Regions from separate parts of the Homo sapiens genome. Here regions 2 and 3 are each linked to region 1. The links are contacts of gene promoters, found by promoter capture Hi-C in human tissues and cell types (Jung and others, 2019). All regions are on one chromosome and are shown on one strand. Each heading gives the region's core, a stretch centred on a gene start or on the middle of the fragment in contact. The rest is flanking DNA. Distances are from core to core; before and after follow the strand shown. Region 1 holds the start of CDC45 (cell division cycle 45). Region 2 overlaps LOC105372859 (a long non-coding RNA gene). Region 3 has its middle 20 kb from the start of SEPTIN5.

Region 1 (3,071 bases), core at 141-2,640:
ACAGGTGTTAAAAGCTGTGTAACAGGAAATGTACCAGCAGGTATTAGCTTCCATCGTTATCATTACCGAACACAACACCGCTGTACAGATTCGAAGGCACGAACCCGTAGGCACGGAGCTCACGGAGCTGGGGCAAGAGCTGGGTGTCCCCCAAGAGCGGGGGATGCCCACTACGGATTCTCCCTGGGGAGCGCCCTGATTCTGTTCCCATCCCCAGCAACCTTGCAACTAACTTTGGGTTTATGGAAACCTGTTGCGCGTCCAGCACTTGGGAAACCCGTGAATGGACACAAACCTTCCTTTCTTTCGTCAAGGAGGGCAAGTCCGGCTGAGACAGAATGCGAGCCACGTTCAGGACCGGCGGACGCGACCACAGGCGGTTAGTGGTCAAGGGTCCTGCTTGTGCCCGGTGCGGCCGATGAGCCTGCAGGCCGGACTCAGGCCCGGGTGACTCGGCACCTCCGCCGCCGTCCCGCCCCGCCCTGCCCCGCCGGGCCCTACCTCAGGCCCCGGGCCAAGGCCCAGCCCCCGCCCGCTGCCCGTCAGCGCTTACCATGATGGACACCACCTGGCAGACTCCGCTCCTCTCAGGCAATGCAACGAAGAAACCCCGCCGACCGCTCTCCCAGCCGCCGCTGCCGCTGCCGCCGCGCCAAGCCGGTACGCCCCAGAGGCTCACCGGAAGTGCCGGACCCGAGACCCGGAGGGGGGGTGCCCGGGACAAAGCGTCGGCTGCAAAAGAGAAAAGGCCAGGCGAAGACGCTAGGCTCTAAAACACCCTCAGTAGAAGCATTAAAATGCCCTTTCGTGATTTATTTCCCCTTTTATAGGTATTTTTAAACGTTATTTTAAATTACGTGTTGACAGTATTCCCCTCCAGACGAATTTAGTAGGGCCCATTGTCCTTACGACTACACTACCCACAATGCACTACCCAGACTGCCTCTGCTTCAGCCATCGAGGACTCGGGCGGAACTAAGCTACAAATCCTTCTTCAAACCACACCAAAAACCTATTGCAAACGTAAATGCTGCCCCATTGGGTATGTGACTGAGTTTAATGTATGGTTAGAAGTATACTTTCCCTGAGGGTTCCCAGTGGGAGGCAGTAGGCTTCTCTTCCCAAAGTAAAGATGTCCGCCCAGCGTCGCTTTTCTGGGTAAAAGCGAGTCAGAGTTGAAGGGGGCAACAGTGTTTGCGTTCGGCCTCAGAGGTGACGCTTCTTTGGGGGCGGGCTGGAGTTTTCTGGCCGTGAATGGCAGAGCGCTAATGGCCGCCTCCAATGTGGCCCAATCAGAAAGAAAGGAAGGCTGGGAACTAAGAAGCTATTGGTTGGTGATCCCTGGACCAATCGGAGGAGCCGTGATTTGGCGGGAGTCTTGACCGCCGCCGGGCTCTTGGTACCTCAGCGCGAGCGCCAGGCGTCCGGCCGCCGTGGCTATGTTCGTGTCCGATTTCCGCAAAGAGTTCTACGAGGTGGTCCAGAGCCAGGTGACGCCCAGTCCGGGACCCCCGCCGAGGCCTTGCCGGTGGGGAAGGGATGAGGGGGAGCGACCGTGGGTGACCGGGAGGCAGGGGAGGGCCGGGGTTCGGGTCGCCGTGTTCAGCCGGTCTGCTCTTCCCCGATAGAGGGTCCTTCTCTTCGTGGCCTCGGACGTGGATGCTCTGTGTGCGTGCAAGATCCTTCAGGTGAGTTCTGCGGACCCTAGGAGGGCGGGGCCGGCGCGCGAGGTGAGGGTGCTGCGTGGGGGCGCAGGGCGGGCAGAGTGTCAGGATGGGTGCTGAGGGCTTAGGGTGGGAGAGGGAGCAGGGCAGGAGGTGAACAGCAAGTGAGAGGAGAGAGACTCGGAGGAGAGGTTGCCTCCCTGTCCCAACGGTGTGGGGTGGGATAAAGGATTAAGTAAAAGGTAAAGAGACTAGTTTGTATTTTTGCAATAAGCTATTAATATTAATAGGTGAACACAGCAGTTGCATTTGGGGGAAACTTTGGATCTGTCGTGGCCTCTCAAATGGGGGATTTGAGAGAGAGGAATCTGTGACAACTGTGGGTATAGTCGTGTCACAGGTGTTGCTGGGAATATGGGAGCCCCTAGTCTATTAGGGAAGATCGTTAGTTTGGTTTTGAATAGGGCATAGTATTTACGTTGTTTTGGTCAGGCCCTTGGATCAGGAACTTTTCAGAAGGCCTGGAAGTTAAATCGGCATTTCTCCCCGATGTTTTACTTTGGTAATTTGCAAAATTCACAGAATGGTATGGTAAACGCTCATATCCCTAGCACCTAGCTTTTCCCGTAAGCATTTCACTAGCTTTAATGTTATCCCGTGTCTTTTGTCTCTCAACCCGTCTAATCTTCCTCAGTTTCTTTTCAAGGTAAATTGCTAATGTCCTAAATAAGATAGGCTTTGAAAACACTCTCTCTCCAGGCCTTGTTCCAGTGTGACCACGTGCAATATACGCTGGTTCCAGTTTCTGGGTGGCAAGAACTTGAAACTGCATTTCTTGAGCATAAAGAACAGGTATTGAAGATGCGTTTTAGAATAACGTGGCTTTTTACTCAATTGTAATTTCTTGACACAGCATTCTATTTCCACGATAGATTAAGCGTGTATTTAAGTATCAGCTACATTAGGCAATATGGAAGAGAAAAACATGCTGTATTTACTGGTGACTTACCACGCCCAAGTTGTAGAAGCAAAATTGACAGCAAAAAAAGATAATGAATGTGGATAGCCCCAACTTTGAACTTGTTTTAACTTGTTTTGCAGAAATTTGATTGTAAGGTGCTTGGAATCTAGCAGTTTTTAATATGGTCTAGTTAAAATTATTTTATTTTATTTTGGTTTATTTTTTTATTTTTTATTTTTTTTGAAACGGAGTCTCGCTGTGTCGCCCAGGCTGGAGTGCAGTGGCACGATCTCGGCTCACTGCAAGCTGTGTCTCCTGGGTTCATGCCATTCTTCTGCCTCAGCCTCCTGAGTAGCTGGGACTACAGGCACCCGCCACCACACCTGGCTAATGTTTTTGTATTTTTAGTAGAGACGGAGTTTCACCATGTTAGTCAGGATGGTCTT
Region 2 (3,150 bases), core at 187-2,686, 150 kb before region 1:
GGAAAGCAGGTTGATGGTTGCCTCAGAATGATGGGGATCGGGGATAGGGCATGATAAAGTGTATGGGGTTTCTTACTGAGGTGATGAAAAGATTCTAATAATGGCTGTGGTTAAAGTGTATGGGGTTTCTTACTGAGGTGATGAAAAGATTCTAATAATGGCTGTGGTGATGGCTGCACATATGATGTGACTACACTGAAAATCATTAGATTGTAAATCGCATGCTGTTAACTATTTCAGTAAAGCCGTTTTTTTTTTTTTAAGCAAAACATGAGCCATCCTTTTCTTTTTTTTTGAGAGTCTCGCTCTGTTGCCCAGGCTGGAGTGCAATGGCATGGTCTCGGCGCACTGCAACCTCTGCCTCCTGGGTTCAAGTGATTCTCCTGCCTCAGCCTCCCAAGTAGCTGGGATTGCAGGTGCGTGCCGCCATGCCTGGCTAATTTTTTGTATTTTTAGTACAGACAGGGTTTCACCATTTTGGCCAGGCTGGTCTCGAACTCCTGACTTCAAGTAATCCGCCGGTCTTGGCCTCCCAAAGTGCTGGGATTGCAGGCGTGAGCCACTGTGCCTGGCCATAATCTTTTCTTTTTTGAGATGGAATCTTGCTCTGTCACCCAGGCTGGAGTCCAGTGGCACAATCTCAGCTCACTGCAACCTCTGCTTCCCAGGTTCAAGCGATTCTCCTGCCTCAGCCACCTGAGTAGCTAAGACTACAGGCACCTGCCATCACACCTGGCTAATTTTTTTTTTTTTTTTTTTTTTTTTGTAGTTTTAGTAGAGGCAGGGTTTCACCATGTTGGCCAGGCTGGTCTCGAACTCCTGGCCTCAAGTGATCCACCTGCCTTGGCCTCCTAAAAGTGCTGGGATTACAGGCGTGAGCCATTGCACCTGTCCTGAGCCATCCTCCTGAGGAAAACGTACTCCATCTTGAGAAAAACCAACAGACGTAGGAATAGAGTACCTAGGTTATAGAGCAAGTATATGTTTAATTCTATGAGGAACGATCACACTGTTTATCAAAGTAACTATTCTTCCTACCAGCAATGCATGAGAGTTCCAGTTGCTCCACATCCTCACTAATACACATTATTGTCTTTTTAAAAAATGTAAGCCATTCTAATAGATATGTGTTGTTACTGTTATTTCTTTTGCTGTACAGAAGCTTTTTAGTTTGTCTAATTTGTCTACTTTTTTGTTGTATTTGCTTTTGAGTCCTTAGTCATAAATTCTTTCTTTCTTTCTTTTTATTTTTTTATTTTTTTTGAGACAGAGTCTCACTCTTTCGCCCAGGCCGGAGTGCAGTGGCGCTATCTTGGCTCACTTCAAGCTCCGCCTCCCTGGTTCACGCCACTCTCCTGCCTCAGCCTCCCGAGTAGCTGGGACTACAGGCACCCACCACTGCGCCAGGCTAATTTTTTGTATTTTTAGTAGGGACGGGGTTTCACCGTGTTAGCCAGGATGGTCTAGATCTCCTGACCTCATGATCCGCCCGCCTCAGCCTCCCAAAGTGCTGGGATTACAGGCGTGAGCCACCGCGCCCAGCTTTTTAAATTTTTTTTGAGACAGTCTCGCACTGTCACCCAGGCTGAAGTGCAGTGACGCGATCTCAGCTCACTGCAACCTGTCTCCTGGGTTCAAGCGATTCTCATGCCTCAGCCTCCTGAGTAGCTGGAATTACAGGTGTGTACCACCATGACTGGCTAATTTTTTGTTTTTGAGGCGGAGTTTCACTCTTGTTGCCCAGGCTGGAATGCAGTGGTGCAATCTTGGCTCACTGCAACCTCTGCCTCCCAGGTTCAAGTGATTCTCCTGCCTCAGCCTCCCAAGTATCTGGGATGACAGCCATGTGCCACCATGCCTGGCTAATTTTGTATTTTAGTAGAGAGGAGGTTTTACTATGTTGGTCAGGAAACAGTGTGATCATTTTGGGTCTTGCTTTTATTTTTTGGTAGGTGGATCTGAAGCAGTGCTGCCTTAGTCTCCTTGGACTCTCAGCTCCATTTCCTCAGCTCAAGTAGTCCACTGGGCTCTACCTCAGTTCTGCCTCCTCTTGCTGTGGCCTAGAAATTCTCTCTGGATATCAGAAAACAAAGGACAGTAATCCCTGCCAAGATGGGATACAAACAAGGTGAGCCCCATGATTGCCCAAGCGTACTACCTGGAGTGTCTTCTTCTGTTTTTTTCTTTTTCTTTTTTTTCTTCAAGATGGGATCTTCCTGTGTTGCCCAGGCTGGAGTGCAGTGCCATGATCATGGCTAATTGCAGCCTTGAACTCCTGGCCTCAAATGGTCCTCCCACCTCAGCCTCCCATGTAGCTAGGTCTCCAAGCGCATGCTACTGTGCCCAGCATGGTATCCAGTGTCTTGAAACCACCATTGCATGTATTTTTGACGGGCTCCTTTGGTTGTTTCAGGTAGAAGGGTCAACCTGGTCCCTGTTACTCCATCTTGTCTGTAAGTTGAAGGCCTTGATGTTTTCTGCTTATCTCTTCATCATCTCCAAACGGTGGTGGTAAAGTCACTCACGACTGCTGTTTCCTTCAAGGGAGGAAACGTGCGAAGACTTTGCCCACACAATCTCAATTTGTCCTCATAACGTTGCAGATTTTTTTTTTTTTTTTTTTTTTTGAGACGGAGTCTTGCTCTGTTGCCGAGGCTGGAGTGCAGTGGCGCGATCTTGGCTCACTGCAACCTCTGCCTCCCGGGTTCAAGCAATTCTCCTGCCTCAGCCTCCCGAGTAGCTGGGATTACAGGTGTGTGCCACCACACCCAGCTAATTTTTGTATTTTTAGTAGAGACGGGGGTTTCATCATGTTGGTCAGGCTGGCTCGAACTCCTGACCTCGTGATCTGCCCACCTTGGCCTCCCAGAGTGCTGGGATTATAGGTGTGAGCCACTGTGCCCGACCCCAGTGCAGATTTTTTTAGTCTCAATCTCTATTTGACAGCTAAAAAACTGAGGCCCAGATGTTTGCTGGTTTGGAGCCCAGACAGGCCTGTTGGCATATATTGCTTCCTGGAGCTCCACAAAGCTCGCAATGTCTTGCTGCATAGTTGCTAAGGGAGCTGCCTCACCTGCACAGCAAGTCTCTGGCTCTTCATTCCTTAAGAGTCCCACTTGCAGCCTGGCTTTTTATGTGTACACACACACA
Region 3 (3,380 bases), core at 570-3,069, 220 kb after region 1:
TATTACATACATTCACAGTGTTGTATAATCGTCACCACCATCCATCTTCAGAACTTTATGCATCTTGCAAAACTAAAACCTGCCCCCATTAAACAGCAGCCCCCCTCATCCCCTGCCCCCAACCCCTGGCAACCCCTATTCTACTGTCCGTGCCTATGAACCTCACTACTCTATGCACCTCACATACGTGGAACCACATGGTATCTGCCCTTTCGTCGCTGGCGTCTCTTAGCATAACGTCCTCAAGGTTCATCGGTGTTGGGGCACGTGTCGGGATTTTATGGTGTGTGAATGACGTCTCAGTTTAAAATGTTCTAGAGTTACCCAGTGGTGATGGATACACAACTCTGAATATGCCAACAACTTCTGACTGGTACACTTTGAGTGGGTGATTGTATGGTCTTTGAATTGTGTCAATAAAGCTGTCATTTAAAATAAAATACCAATCCGTGCTGGCACAGAGAAGGACTGGGAGACTCCGGGCAGTGCGCAGGCCCCTGTGTCTAGGAGAGTGAGGGGCCTGCTGACCTCGTCCCGGGCAGGCGTCCCAAGAGTCTAAGTTCCAGGCCTTAGGTCTCCTTACGTGGGTCTTGTGCGCATGGCTCAGGTGGAGTGGCGACCTGAACAGTCGGCACTGCTACGTGAGGACGAGTGTGGCCCCAGATGGAAGGCCTGAGCGGAGGCAGCAGGGATGAGGGTGGCATGGGTGTTGTTATGCACTGATTTATGTTCTCCCTTCCAAAACTCCACACCAAAGCCCTCACCCCCAGGACCTCCGAATGTGTATTTGGAGGTAGGGTCCTTAAGGAGGTAGTTAAGTTAAAATAAATTCATGAGGGGGTAGGTCCTGATCCCATATGACTGGTGTCCTTCTAAGAAGAAATTGGGACACAGACATGTACAGAGGGACAACTCCGGGAGGACTCAGGGAGAAGGTGCCACCCGCAAGGCAAGGAGAGAGGCCTCAATCGGAACCAGCCCTGCCCACACCTTGATCTTGGACTCCCAGCCTCCGAGACAAGACAATAAATGCCTGTGGTTAAGCCACCGGTCTGCAGTGCCTCAGGACACAGACACAGGTGGTGATGAAGCCAGGCGAGAACATTTTGAATGCATCTAGGGATAGAATCGGCAGGACTTGCTGATGGATCCAATGCAGGACAAGTAGGTGACCCTGAGGATTTTATTTGAGCAAATGGTGCAGTCACCAGTCAGACGGGGGACCCCCGGGCAAGCACAGTGCAGTTTCTTTGCAGGTGCATCCATGAAGGGTGTGATGCCTACCAGACATTCAGGAGCTGCAGCCAGGTGGGCAGCCCACAGGGGAGTCTGGGCTTCTGGGAGGAAGATGCAGAGCCGTCCTGGACAGGGCAGCAGCAGCACCAGCCTTCACTGGAGCCGGGGCCTGCAGCCTCCATTGGTGGCACACCCAGGTGAGGTCTTCACACTGCCTACACTAAAGCAAATGAACAACAAAAATCATGAGAGACCCTTGGATCAGTTTTGCACGGGAGAAGTCATTTCTTTCTTTTCTTTTTTTTTTTTTCAAGATGGGGTCTCACTCTGACACCCAGGCTGGAGTGCCGTGGCGCGATCTCAGCTCACTGCAACTTCTGCCTCCCAGGCTCAAGTGATGCTCCCACCTCAGCCTCCTGAAGCTGGAACCACAGGCATGCGCCACCACACCTAGCTGTTTGTTTGTTTGTTTTGGTAGAGACGGGGTTTCGCCGTGTTGCCCAGGCTGGTCTCAAACTCCTGAGCACAAGCGATCTGGGATTACGAGTCACTGCGCAGGGTGGGGAGAAGTCATTTCTATGCGCCTCGGGGAAGCAGTGTGGACAAGGCCCGCAGGGCCCTGCTCTTGGGCTGATTCCCTTGAGGGAGAGCCTAATGTGTAAGTGAAAAATGAAATGTGCAGGAGAGCCACTGGTCAAGCAGCAGTGCTGGGGCAGCAGGCCCTGTCGGGGATGCCAGCAGGCTCAGAGCACAGCCAGGAGGAGCCGGCCTCCAGACAAAAGCACATTTGCTAAAATAACTTTGAGAAATTTTTTAATGTTTTTCAAATTTTTACCGAAATTTAGAAAAATTTCCTCTAAACTTTGCTTAAACCGTGCTAAAAAGTGGGGACAAGCCTGAACAAAGGCCTGACACCAGCAAAGGTCAGCGAGCAGTGCAGAAGAGGCGGGAAATATTGCCAGGAGGTGGCCAGGCAAGGAGAGGCGAGGGAGGTCCCCAGAGCGTCTCCCCACCCCCGATTGGACCCAAGGCACTGGGTAGTTTGCCGAGGGCAGTGCAGCCACCTTGGGCCAGGGTCCCAGCCGCTTGCCCTCTGTCAGGAGTTGCTTTCTTTTTTTTTTTTTTTTTTTTTTGAGACGGAGTCTCGCTCTGTCACCCAGGCTGTAGTGCAGTGGCTCCATCTCGGCTCACTGCAAGCTCCGCCTCCCGGGTTCACGCGATTCTCCTGCCTCAGCCTCCCGAGTAGCTGGGACTACAGTTGCCCGCCACCACGCCCGGCTGATTTTTTGTATTTTTAGTAGAGACGGGGTTTCACCGTGTTGGCCAGGATGGTCTCCATCGCCTGACCTCGTGATCCACCCGCCTCGGCCTCCCAAAGTGCTGGGATTACAGGCGTGAGCCACCGCGCCCGGCCAGGAGTTGCTTTCTTAGGTATCTCCTTGGATCATGAGTTTCAGCGAGGAGGGGTCGTCTGCACAGGAAACACGCCCCGGCCGTTGGAGACTCGCTGCTGCCCCCACGAGGCACTGCTCCTTTGGAGTGAGCTGGCCAAGCACAACACAGAGCCTGCTCCCCAAACTGGGCGGGACAGCGCCAGGCCTACAGTCACCACGGAATGTGCTCTCTCACTCAGCGCCTCTCCTGGAGCCTGAGATGGCTCCATTCAGCACTGCAATCCTCCCAGCGAACCCCAGCCAACCCAAACAGCCTTGTTTGTGCGGGGCTCTGTTTCCCAGTCAGGATACAGGGCAGCAGGGCGGGAAGGAGCCTCAGCAGCTCCCCAGCAGCACACACCACCGGCCTGGCTTCCCTGCTCTGTTCGGGAATCTCCTCCCCCACACCCCCCGCAGCCCCCAGCCCCCCAGGAACACTTCCCCAGTGGGCTCTAGCCTCACCTACACAGCCCCCACCAGACCCCTGCGCCCGTGTCTCAGAGGCTGTCACAGAGACAACCGATGGCCCTGCCCATCATCCAGCTGGTCACGCCGATGCCTCCCCCACCTCCCGCACCACATCTGGTGCCACACAGCTGTGACCAGGTGTGACTGTACACAGGGATGGCCCCCATCCCCTCTCCACTGTCAGTGCCCTGGCCCCAGGCCTCTGCTGTGCCTTTGGGGAGTCCTCCCACTGCCCACTCTGCT

The links. Contacts are between HindIII fragments. The study calls those that stand out against the background at their distance.
Region 2: a contact is called between a fragment that was not itself captured here and the fragment with the promoter of CDC45 in region 1, in 1 of the 25 tissues and cell types used here (lymphoblastoid cells).
Region 3: a fragment that was not itself captured here is called in contact with the fragment with the promoter of CDC45 in region 1 in 2 of the 25 tissues and cell types used here (IMR-90 fibroblasts and stomach).

What each region holds. Positions count from the first base shown.
Region 1 is chr22:19,478,530-19,481,600 of GRCh38, forward strand. CDC45 (cell division cycle 45) reads left to right here and starts at 1,391. Exons shown (of 19, transcript NM_003504.5): 1 at 1,391-1,490; 2 at 1,629-1,688; 3 at 2,424-2,516. The coding sequence starts at 1,440. UFD1 (ubiquitin recognition factor in ER associated degradation 1) reads right to left here and starts at 664. Exons shown (of 12, transcript NM_005659.7): 1 at 554-664. The coding sequence starts at 556. RefSeq lists silencers at 431-500, 1,291-1,340 and an enhancer at 901-1,200. The HindIII fragment of the contact is 17,956 bases long and covers 1-3,071 here.
Region 2 is chr22:19,326,446-19,329,595 of GRCh38, forward strand. LOC105372859 (a long non-coding RNA gene) reads left to right here. Exons shown (of 6, transcript XR_938002.3): 2 at 1,953-2,128. Among named protein-coding and RNA genes, the nearest start is that of CLTCL1, 36 kb to the left of the region's middle. The HindIII fragment of the contact is 5,118 bases long and covers 1-3,150 here.
Region 3 is chr22:19,693,136-19,696,515 of GRCh38, forward strand. No RefSeq gene overlaps it. Among named protein-coding and RNA genes, the nearest start is that of SEPTIN5, 20 kb to the right of the region's middle. The HindIII fragment of the contact is 5,757 bases long and covers 1-3,380 here.